3 separate regions of the Homo sapiens genome follow, and all the other regions are linked to region 1. The links are contacts of gene promoters, found by promoter capture Hi-C in human tissues and cell types (Jung and others, 2019). All regions are on one chromosome and are shown on one strand. The core of a region is centred on a gene start or on the middle of the fragment in contact, and the rest is flanking DNA. Distances in the headings are between cores, read along the strand shown.

Region 1 (3,720 bases), core at 354-2,853:
TGACTCACGCCTGGAATCCAAGCACTTTGGGAGGCCGAGGTGGGTGGGTCACCTGAGGTCAGGAGTTTGAGACCAGCCTGGCCAACATGGTGAAACCTTGTCTCTACTAAAAATACAAAAATTAGCCGGGCATGGTGGCATGTGCCTGTAATCCCAGCTAGTCGGGAGGCTGAGGCAGGAGAATCGCTCAAACCCGGGAGGTGCAGGTTGCAGTGAGCGGAGATTGCACCACTGCACTCCAACCTGGGTGACAGAGCAAGACTCTGTCTCAAAAGAGTAATTTTAAAAAGTAAGGCAACAAATTATCAGGAGTTTTTGAGCTGGTTGTTAAGCACAGTTATTATTAAAAATTACATTCTATACATTTATAATAAATTACACTAAAAATAGGTAATATGTGCTCAAAACTCATCCCCTCCTAAAAATTTTACTACACTGTACTCCTATCTATGCTGTTGAGGTTATTTCCATAGATTGTATCTGTGTGATAGAAACACCATGTAACCACATGCTGCTGTACGTCTTCCCAATTCTGACTGATGACCTCGCTTGGTAGTTTGAAATCAGCCATGATGGGGATATTAACACCACACAAGTCAGCAAATGCTGTCAGTTAGGATTTTTTTTTTTTTTTTTTTTTTTTTGAGACGGAGTCTTGCTCTTGTCGCCCAGGCTGGAGTGCGATGGTGCGATCTTGGCTCACTGCAACCTCCACCTCCCGGGTTTAAGAGATTCTCCTGTCTCAGCCTCCCGAGTAACTGAGATTACAGGCGCCTGCCGCCACCTGGCTAATTTTTATATTTTTAGTAGAGACGGGGTTTCCTGCTTCAGCCTCCTAAGTAGCTGAGAATACAGGCGTGCACCACCATGCCCAGCTAATTTTTTTATTTTTTATTTTTTTAATTTTTAGTAGAGATGGGGTTTCACCATGTTTGTCAGACTGGTCTCGAACTCCTGACCTCGTGATCCACCGGCCTCGGCCTCCCACAGTGCTGGATGACAGGCGTGAGCCCCCGCGCCCGGTCCGTGCATTTACAGCACAAGTTCACGCTTATCTACAAAGCATCCACCTCTCACCGCACCTTCCGGGACCACGGGATTTAACGCCTCACCGCCCGATGACAGCACGAGGTGGAAAGGGCAGCGACAATGCTCGCGCGTCCCCTCCCGGCGATCCGGAGCACGGCAGCCCCGGAGCGCGCGGCCACTCCTCGCTCCCCTCAGGAGCTCGTAAGAGCCCCGCGCGGGGCCGAGGCGCGAGAGCACGCGCAACGCTTCCTGGGAAATGTAGTTGGGTGTCGGATTAGAACTACAAATCCCGGTACTCACCGCGCTGCAGCCCCGACCGTGAGGGCGCTTTCTGGTGAATCTGAATCTCGTTTGTCTGTGACATGGGGAAAGCTGTCCAAGCCCAATTCCATTTTCACAAGAGGCTTTCTTTTTGGAAACATGATAGCGGTCTCGCTGGTGTGCGCACCAGGAGCGTTGCGGCCGCGGCTTCCTCCTGCGGCGAATCTGCCGTTGCATCACAGTGGCTAGTCTCAGGGCCCGCAACGTGACGCTTGTCGAATCTGCTGCGGGGAGAAGGACGCGAGGGTTGCTTGGGCAGCGACTGTCATGGCGGCGGCCGCCCCCAATGCCGGAGGCTCGGCCCCTGAGACAGCGGGTTCCGCCGAAGCTCCGCTGCAGTACAGCCTGCTCCTGCAGTACCTGGTGGGTGACAAGCGTCAGCCCCGGCTCCTGGAGCCTGGGAGCCTGGGCGGGATCCCAAGTCCAGCCAAGAGTGAGGAGCAGAAGATGATCGAGAAGGCGATGGAAAGCTGCGCTTTCAAGGCTGCGCTGGCCTGCGTGGGAGGTGAGGCCGGGCGATGGGACCCTTGGGAGGCTGAGGGCCTGGACGGCAGTGGGGATCTCTGCCGAGAAGACCACGCGCCTGGGAGGCGAGGGACTGCGGGCCTTGACCTTGACCACACCCTCGCCTCGTTCGTGAATCGGGCGTCACCTCTCCTGCCCCCTCAGGCCGGCTTTCCTGATGAAAATTGGGTTAGAGAATCGGTGCTGTGGTTGGGGCCTGAAAGTTATTACATGACATCCTGGCTAACACGGTGAAACCCCGTCTCTACTAAAAATACAAAAAATTAGCTGGACGTGGTGGTGGGCGCCTGTAGTCCCAGCTATTCGGGAGGTTGAGGCAGGAGAATCGCTTGAACCCAGGAGGCGGAGCTTGCAGTGAGCCGAGATGTGCCACTGCTCTCCAGCCTGGGCGACAGAGCGAGACTCCGTCTCAAAAACAACAACAAAAAGTTATTACGTGGGTGACTTCATTCATCCGTTCATTCCCTTAAATTCATTCTCTTAAATAATTCTTTCAACAAATTGTTCCTAAGCAATATCACGTGCCAGGTGAAAGAGACAAGAGCCTGGTCTTCATGGGGCCTGTATTATACTATGTGGAGAAGAATGTTGAGCAGGAACACTGCAGAGGAAGGATGCAGACATATGGAAATGCACATGCAGACGACTCTAGGGCAGCAGTTGTTTGAGGTTTGAAAAACTGAAAGACCATTGTGACTAGACAGCCCCGAGCAAGGAGAGACGAAGTCTGCACTTGTCCTTCTGTTTTTCCCTTAAGTTGAAGGGGAGGTGCCCATGATTTTATTAAACTCATATTGACCATGAGGTCATGAGAGGGCATCCATCTGGACATGTCCAGCCGGCTCAGGAAGGACAGATGTGGCAGCAGTGTGGGATTTGCCATTAGGTAGCTGTGTGGCCTTGGGAGAAGTTGCTTAACCTCTCTGAGCCTCAGTTTATAGAAAGGAGAGGCTAATAGCATCTGTCTCACTGGATTATTGTGAAGAATGAATGAGGCTGTGGCATACTGGCATGTGCTCAGTAAAGCATTACTGTGAATGTCACAGTGGCCAAGAGAGTGATTTGCAAAGTTGATAGCTGAAGTTGAGGGTGGCTGGTTTACATATGAGAGAATGTAGAGAGAATAGAGGGTTAAAGATGGAATCTTGAGAAATGTTAGGGAATGACAGGAGGAAGAAATCTTAGAGACGGAGAAGATGATGTCAGTAACATAGACCCTGGATTGCAAGTCTCCAGGCAAGTGGAGAGTTTGAGTGGCAAGAGGGGGGTGTCCTCTGCACCGGTGGTCATCCAAAAGCATGGTCCCTTCCAGGATGATCCCAATAGAGTAATGCAGAAAACATGCCAAAGACACCTTCATCTCTGTGTTTGCTTCTAGGATTTGTCTTAGGAGGTGCATTTGGGGTGTTTACCGCTGGCATCGATACCAACGTGGGCTTTGACCCTAAGGATCCTTACCGTACACCGACTGCAAAAGAAGTGCTGAAAGACATGGGGCAGAGAGGAATGTCCTATGCCAAAAATTTCGCCATTGTGGGAGCCATGTTTTCTTGTACTGAGTGTTTGATAGAATCTGTAAGTGTCTCTGCCTTCTAAGAAATCCTTGCTGGGGCCACCATTTCATTACTTTTAAAGAGAAATTGCTCTTTAAAAGTCATTTGAAAGTTGTTACTAGAAAGCAAATCAGAAGCATCAGATACATTCTAGGTTGAACTTCCATAAAATAGTCCCTGTGGCAGACTTTGTGTGTGTTTACAGTATGGGCTTGCATTATTTTTTACTTTTTGTAGGCTAGAAGTTAGCTAATGATTTTAAACGAGACTTATTGGAGAGCCCCTTGAAGAA
Region 2 (3,720 bases), core at 859-3,358, 200 kb after region 1:
GAGCGAAACTCTATCTCAAAACAAAAAACAAAACAAAACAAAAACTTGCACAGAGGCAGACGTGGAAATGGAGCGAAGAGCTAGAATGGATGACTGTGGAGAAGGTTCTTTTGGGAACTGGGGGCGAATATAGAAACTGCTACTAATCTAACGTGTGGCCTCAGCATGAATTCAGGAAAACAACAGAATTAGCAGCTTTTCTTAGATCCACCTTATAGAGAAGCCTTTCTGGGACACCCCCTCCCCCTCAATACCCACAAGGATTCAGGACTCCCCCGCTCTCCCGGCGAGTTTGCTGAACGCCCTTCGGCCGACGTGTCCCGAGCATCGCCAGTATTTACGTTCTAGGCACCCTGTTAAGCACGTAACCTTCACTCTTCGCAAGCAGCCTCTCTATGTGGAAGCCACAGTCACCACGCCCGCTTTACAGAAGAGGCTCAAGTTCACACTGCTAGTGAGTGACAGAGCCAAGTTCTCACTCGGGTCTGGCTCGGTCCAGAGCAATTGTACCTGGCCACCAGTCCTGAAGCTTCAGGAAAGCATCCTGACCAGATGCCGCCCGACATTCACTCAGGAAGAGCTCGGTTTCCAGCACGCCAGGGAGTACTGGCAACTGACGCTAATTCAAGCACATCAGTGCAGCCCTTTTTGTTTGTGTGTTTTTATGTTTGAGATAGAGTCTCCCTCTGTCCCCCAGGCTGGAGTGTGGAGTGCAGTGGCACAATCTCGGCTCACTGCATCCTCCGCCTCCCAGGTTGAAGCGATTCACCTGCCTCAGCCTCCTGAATAACTGGGACTACAGGCACCCGCCACCACGCCCAGCTAATTTTTTTTTTGTATTTTTAATAGAGACGGGGTTTCACCGTGTTAGCCAGGATGGTTTTGATCTCCTGACCTCGTGATCTGCCCACCTTGGCCTCTCAAAGTGCTGGGATAACAGGCGTGAGCCCCGCGCCTGGCCACTGCAGCTCTTAAAGCTTACTCTCCAGGGGAAGTGGCAGAGGAAGGAAGACACAAAGATGAATTTCCATCCTCTTTCTCCTCTACTGAAATCTGACAAGCTCCTGGGTCTTTTGATTTCTCCTTGAACATGAGGTTTGTACCTGGAGGATCTCTGGTGGCAAGGGTGTTTCCTTTGTTTTTTTTTATTTATTTATATTTTGATTGATTGATTGAGACAGAGTCTCTCTCTGTCGCCCAGGCTGGAGTGCAATGGCACGATCTTGGCTCACTGCAACCTCCGCCTCCCGGGTTCAAGTAATTCTCTTGCCTCAGCCTCCCAAGTAGCTAAGATTACAGGTACACGCCACCACGCCCAGCTATTTTTTTGTTTTGTTTTGTATTTTTAGTAGAGAGGGGTTTCACCATGTTGGCCATGCTGGTCTCAACTCCTGACCTCAGGTGATCTGCCTGCCTCGTCTTCCCAAAGTGCTGGGATTACAGGTGTGAGACACTTCGCCCAGCCTTCTTTATTTTTTAGAGACAAGTCTCACTCTATCGCCCAGACTGGAGTGTAGTGGTGCAATCATAGCTCACTACAGTCTCGACCTCCCAGGCTCAAGCCATCCCCCTGCCTCAACTTCTTGCATAGCTAGGACTACAGGCATGCACCACCACACCCAGCTAATTTTTTTTTTTTTAAGATGGAGTCTCGCTCTGTTGCCCAGGCTGGAGTGCAGTGGTGCGGTCTCAGCTCACTGCAACCTCCACCTCCCGGGTTCAAGCAATCCTCCTGCCTCAGCCCCCCTAGTAGCTGGGATTACAGGCATGTGCCACCATGCCCTAAAAATTTTGTATTTTTAGTAGAGACAGGGTTTCGCCATGTTGGCCAGACTGGTCTCGAACTCCTGACTCAGGTGATTCACCCACCTCGGCCTCCTAAAGTGCTGGAATTACAGGTGTGAGCCACCGCGCCCGACCCTAATTTTTTTTTTAATTTTGTACAGACAGAACCTCACTATGTTGCCCAGGCTGCTCTTGAAGTCCTGGCCTCAGGCCAGGCGCGGTGGCTCACGCCTGTAATCCCAGCACTTTGGGAGGCCGAGGCGGGCGGATCACGAGGTCAGGAGATCGAGACCATCCTGGCTAACACGGTGAAACCCCGTCTCTACTAAAAATACAAAAAATTAGCCGGGCGCAGTGGCGGGCGCCTGTAGTCCCAGCTACTCGGGAGGCTGAGGCAGGAGAATGGCGTGAACCCGGAAGGCGGAGCTTGCAGTGAGCGGAGATCGCGCCACAGCACTCCAGCCTGGGCGACAGAATGAGACTGTCTCAAAAAAAAAAAAAAGTCCTGGCCTCAAAGGATCCTCCCACCTTGGCCTCTCCAAGTGCTGGGATTACAGGCGTGAGCCATCAGGCCCGGCCCTTAAGGGTGTTTTCTACTGCTACAGTGATTAACTAGTCTCTGGTGTATCTCTCTCCCAAAGGCAGCCCCCAGCCCTGCCTGACCCAGGCTCAGCAAGTAGCGTAAGGAGCATTTTAAAGAAAATTATTGGCTGGGCAGTGGCTCACGCCTGTCATCCCAGCACTGTGGGAGGCCGAGGCGGGTGGATCACGAGGTCAGGAGATCGAGACCATCCTGGCTAACACGGTGAAACCCCGTCTCTACTAAAAATACAACAAATTAGCCGGGCGTGGTGGTGGGCGCCTGTAGTCCCAGCTACACAGGAGGCTGAGGCAGGAGAATGGTGTGAACCCGGGAGGCAAAGGTTGCAGTGAGCCGAGATCGTGTCACTGCACTCCAGCCTGCGCAACAGAGCGAGACTCTGTCTCAAAAAAAAAAAATTATTGGCCGGCGCGGTGGCTCACGCCTGTAATCCCAGAACTTTGGGAAGGCAAGTTGGGATTGTGGGGAGAGATCACTTGAGGTCAGGGATCACTTGAGGTCAGGAGTGCGAGACGAGCCTGGGCAACATGGCAAAACCCCATCTCTACTAAAAATACAAAAATTAGCCAGGCATGGTAGCAGGTGCCTGTAATCCCAGGTACTCAGGTGGCTGAGGCACGAGGATCGCTTGAACCAAGAAGGAGAAGGTTGCAGTGAGCCGAGATCACGACACTGCACTCCAGCCTGAGCAACAGAGCGAGATTCTGTCTCAAAAAAAAAAAAAAAAATAGGCAAGGTGCGGTGGCTCACGCCTATAATCCCGGCACTTTGGGAGGCCGAGGCAGGCGGATCACCTGAGGTCAGGAGTTCAAGACCAGCCTGGCCAACATGGCGAAACCCTCTTTCTACTACAAATACAAAAATTAGCTGGGCATGGTGGCACGTGCCTGTAATCCCAGCTACTCGGGAGGCTGAGGCAGGAGAATCACTTGAACCCAGGAGGTGGAGGTCACAGTGAGCTGACATCACACCACTGCACTCCAGCCTGGGTGACAAGAGTGAAAACTCTGGCCCAAAAAACAAATTAATTAATTAAATTTAATTTAGAAAAGATTTCTTAGCTAACTTCTCAGAGGAACATAGGACAAAACTGGGTATTAACTCTACATCCTGCCTCACCCACCCCCTCCCTAAATGTTGATGACTCTGTTGCCCTGGGCTTACCAAAGAGCAGCCACACACACAGAACTTTCTGAAAAATCCTGTCAGTGCTCTGAACAAGGCTCGAGTCCCTGGGAGAAGACGGCACCACAGGAAGCTACAGGAGATCCAACCTTCCTTTTTTTTTTTTTTTTGAGACGGAGTCTTGCTCTGTCGCCCAGGCTGGAGTGCAG
Region 3 (3,720 bases), core at 400-2,899, 140 kb after region 1:
TTTGTCAAAGGTGACCATGGTGGGAACCAAGGGCAAAGTCTGGCGATGGGAGAGTTGACTGAAAATGCGGCCACAGCAGGGTCCTCTGGGCTTGGAGGGCTGAGCGATGGACAGGAAGGGGGAGCTGGTTCCGGGGGAACAGACCCTAAGTCCAGGTGGAGACATGTCTGGACTGAGAAGACTCATGGCCATCCCTGTCAGAAGATCCAACGGGCAGCCAGACAGCAGAGTCTGGACCACAGGTGTGGATCTGGGAGGCCGGCAACCCTGAACCAGGGAACTGGCCAGCGGAAGCGAGGCTGCCACTTCCCAGGTGCCACCTGTACCAGATCAGCCTGTCCGGGGCAATTTCAGCAGGGATGGTGGCTCAGATACAAAATCTACCACCTCACCTACAACAATAAGGACACTGTCTTCTACTGCACTTTATTTTATTGATTTATTTATTTTTGGAGACGAAGTCTCAATCTGTCACCCAGGCTGGAGTGCAGTGGTGGGATCTCAGCTCACTGCAACCTCCGCCTCCCAGGTTCAAGCAATTCTCCTGTCTCAGCCTCCCAAGTAGCTGGGATCACAGGCACCCGCCACCATGCCCGGCTAATTTTTGTATTTTTAGTAGAGATGGGGTTTCACCATGTTGGCCAGGCTGGTCTCGAACTCCTGACCTCAAGTGATCCGCCCACCTCGGCTTCCCAAAGTGCTGAGATGACAAGTGTGAGCCACCGCGCCCGGCCAGTCTTCTATTGCACTGGGAGGCAGAGGTTGCAGTGAGCTGAGATCGCACCACAGCACTCCAGCCTGGGTGACAGAGTGAGACTGTCTCAAAGAAACAAGATGAGGATAACGATACCATGTCACAGGGTGGTTGTGAAAATGACATTAAATAACATGATGTAGGTTAAAGAACTGGGCACAGTATCAGGGCAGAAGGGTCCTTGGGAAAGCTCAGCTGAAGCCGAGTGGGTGTCGTAGGCAACGGGAAAGTAGACACCTTCAGGGTCCAGGTGACCCCAGCTGATCCAGGAGATATTTAATACCATCGGGAGCCCCTCAGTCAGGGCCTGGCTCCAAGGGGAGGAATCCTGGAAACCAGCATCTTTCCCACGGGACAAGCCACCTCCTTCTCAGGGCCCCCCATTCTTTGATTGATGGAGCAGAGGTTGGGGAGCCAGGACAGCTCAGTGGTCAAGGGCAGAGGCTTTGGAATCACACTCGGGTTCCATTCCTGAGATTAGCACTTCGGGAATGTGACCTTAGCCATGTGACCTTGGGCAAGCTACTTAGCCATTCAGAGCCTCAGTTTTCTCATCTCTAAAATGAGGATAAAAACAAGATCTATACCTCATGAAGCTTTTGCGAGGTTACAATGAGGAAATATATGCTATGCAAGGCACCCAAAGCTGGCGCTAACAAAACGGCAGCTATTATCATTATTCCCCTGCTCTCCTTCCTGAGTACCAAGAACCCTTAGGGACCTCCCAGCCCTTAAAAAACAAACCAGGGCTTTGGCAATTTGCAGTGAGTTAAGACTACAGCAAGCTTTGTCAGCTAACTCTGCTGTTCATCAGTCAGCCTCCATTCAGCACAGGCTGGTGGACTAGTTACGACTTAAATTCTTTTTTTTTTTGGAGACAGAGTCTTGCTCTGTCTCCCACGCTAGAGTACAATGGCACAATCTTGGCTCACTGCAACCTCCACCTCCCCGGTTCAAGCAATTCTCCTGCCTCAGTCTCCTGAGTAGCTGGGATTACAGGTGCCCGCCACCACGCCCGGATAATTTTGTATTTTTAGTAGAGGTAGGGTTTCACCATGTTAGCCAGGATGGTCTCAAACTCCTGACCTCAGGTGATCCACCTGCCTCGGCCTCCCAAAGTGCTGGGATTACAGGTGTGAGCCACTGCGCCCGGCCAGTTCATGACTTGAATCCTAAGATAACTGTTCCAATCTTCACTGCACACTGGAATCCCTGGGGAGTTGGGAAGCTCTCTGGCTCCTACCCCAGGGATTGCTACTGAATTGGTATGGAATGGCCTGGGCATCAGGCCTGTTAAAAGCTCCCCAGGTGACTCTAATGTATAGGAAGGCCAAGAGCCGCCAGGTTCAGACAGGGACACTGAAGTGAGCGTCTTTACAACCAAATGGAACTAAGACTCTTGCTGGGCACAGTGGCTCACGCCTGTCATCCCAGCACTTTGGGAGGCCGAGGCAGGCGGATCACCTGAAGTCGAGAGTTCGAGACCAGCCTGGCCAACATAGAGAAACCCCGTCTCTACTAAAAATATAAAAATTAGCCGGGTATGGTGACAGATGTCTGTAATCCCAGCTACTCGGGGGGCTGAGGCAGGAGAATCGCTTGAACCCGGGAGGCGGATGTTGCAGTGAGCTGAGATCACACCATTGCACTCCAGCCTGGGCGATAAGAGCGAAACTCCATCTCAAAAAAAAAAAAAAAATACTCTGAAGCAGCCTATGAAGCCATCAGCCAGGCGCGTGATCAATTCAGCCAGCACAGGGAAGGCTGCCCGGAAGAGGCAGGGCTTGTCCTCAGTCTTGGGGACTGTGGGATTCGCTGGGGAAGAGAAGACAAGACGGACGGAAAGGGCTTTGCTCTGATTGTGAACCACAGACAGGCAGGGGTGGGTGGGGGTCGGCCCCTGTCTCATTCACTCAGGACCCTCGGCCTGGCCTGTAGCAGCCACTGGGAGCACAGACAGCGCCACCCTCACCCCGAGGCCTGGAGCCCCTCATTAGCCCAGCAAAGCGGCAACTGGAGGCCGGGCAGAGGCTGTGGGGCAGCTCACTCCTGGGAGGAAGCTCACTCCTGGGGGACAGCTCGCTCCTGGGGGACAGCTCATTCCTGGGGACAGCTCGCTCCTGGGGGACAGCTCATTCCTGGGGGGCAGCTCGCTCCTGGGGGGCAGCTCGCTCCTGGGGGACAGCTCATTCCTGGGGGACAGCTCGCTCCTGGGGGGCAGCTCGCTCCTGGGGGACAGCTCATTCCTGGGGGACAGCTCGCTCCTGGGGGGCAGCTCGCTCCTGGGGGACAGCTCATTCCTGGGGGACAGCTCGCTCCTGGGGGGCAGCTCGCTCCTGGGGGACAGCTCATTCCTGGGGGACAGCTCGCTCCTGGGGGACAGCTCGCTCCTGGGGGGCAGCTCGCTCCTGGGGGACAGCTCATTCCTGGGGGACAGCTCACTCCTGGGGGGCAGCTCGCTCCTGGGGGACAGCTCATTCCTGGGGGACAGCTCGCTCCTGGGGGGCAGCTCGCTCCTGGGGGACAGCTCATTCCTGGGGGACAGCTCGCTCCTGGGGGGCAGCTCATTCCTGGGGGGCAGCTCGCTCCTGGGGGGCAGCTCGCTCCTGGGGGACAGCTCGCTCCTGGGGGACAGCTCATTCCTGGGGGACAGCTGCTGTTGCAGGAGTTGTTTGCTCCGGCTCTGCCTCCACTGCTGGGAACAGACTCGAGGCCCCACCATGGGCGGGTGTTATGGCCTCTCTGGTTGCCATGGAGATGAAATCCAATCATCCACCTCCAAGATCCTTGGAAGAGGGAGGCAGAGACCGTAGCCGCCTGGAGAAGTGGCCGCCTGGAGAAGCTCAGGGCTCCACAGCCTGAGACAAAGGAATCATAGTTCTTGGACATCAAGGGCAGAGGCTGAGGCCCAGGGTGTCAGGGTGGCCAGCAGCCCTGGGCAGAGAAGCGCATGTGGCTTCACCAGT

What was found. The method cuts DNA at HindIII sites, captures the fragments that hold promoters and counts their contacts. A contact is called where the count stands out against the background at its distance.
Region 2: a fragment that was not itself captured here is called in contact with the fragment with the promoter of TIMM22 in region 1 in 3 of the 25 tissues and cell types used here (bladder, dorsolateral prefrontal cortex and spleen).
Region 3: a contact is called between a fragment that was not itself captured here and the fragment with the promoter of TIMM22 in region 1, in 3 of the 25 tissues and cell types used here (IMR-90 fibroblasts, dorsolateral prefrontal cortex and thymus).

What each region holds. Positions count from the first base shown.
Region 1 is chr17:995,526-999,245 of GRCh38, forward strand. TIMM22 (translocase of inner mitochondrial membrane 22) reads left to right here and starts at 1,604. Exons shown (of 4, transcript NM_013337.4): 1 at 1,604-1,855; 2 at 3,254-3,450. The coding sequence starts at 1,618. RefSeq lists an enhancer at 1,626-2,317. The HindIII fragment of the contact is 16,003 bases long and covers 1-3,720 here.
Region 2 is chr17:1,193,032-1,196,751 of GRCh38, forward strand. It overlaps a transcript of ABR not described here. Among named protein-coding and RNA genes, the nearest start is that of ABR-AS1, 13 kb to the left of the region's middle. The HindIII fragment of the contact is 6,525 bases long and covers 1-3,720 here.
Region 3 is chr17:1,140,149-1,143,868 of GRCh38, forward strand. All of the region lies in intron 1 of ABR (ABR activator of RhoGEF and GTPase), which reads right to left. Among named protein-coding and RNA genes, the nearest start is that of ABR, 38 kb to the right of the region's middle. The HindIII fragment of the contact is 6,228 bases long and covers 1-3,720 here.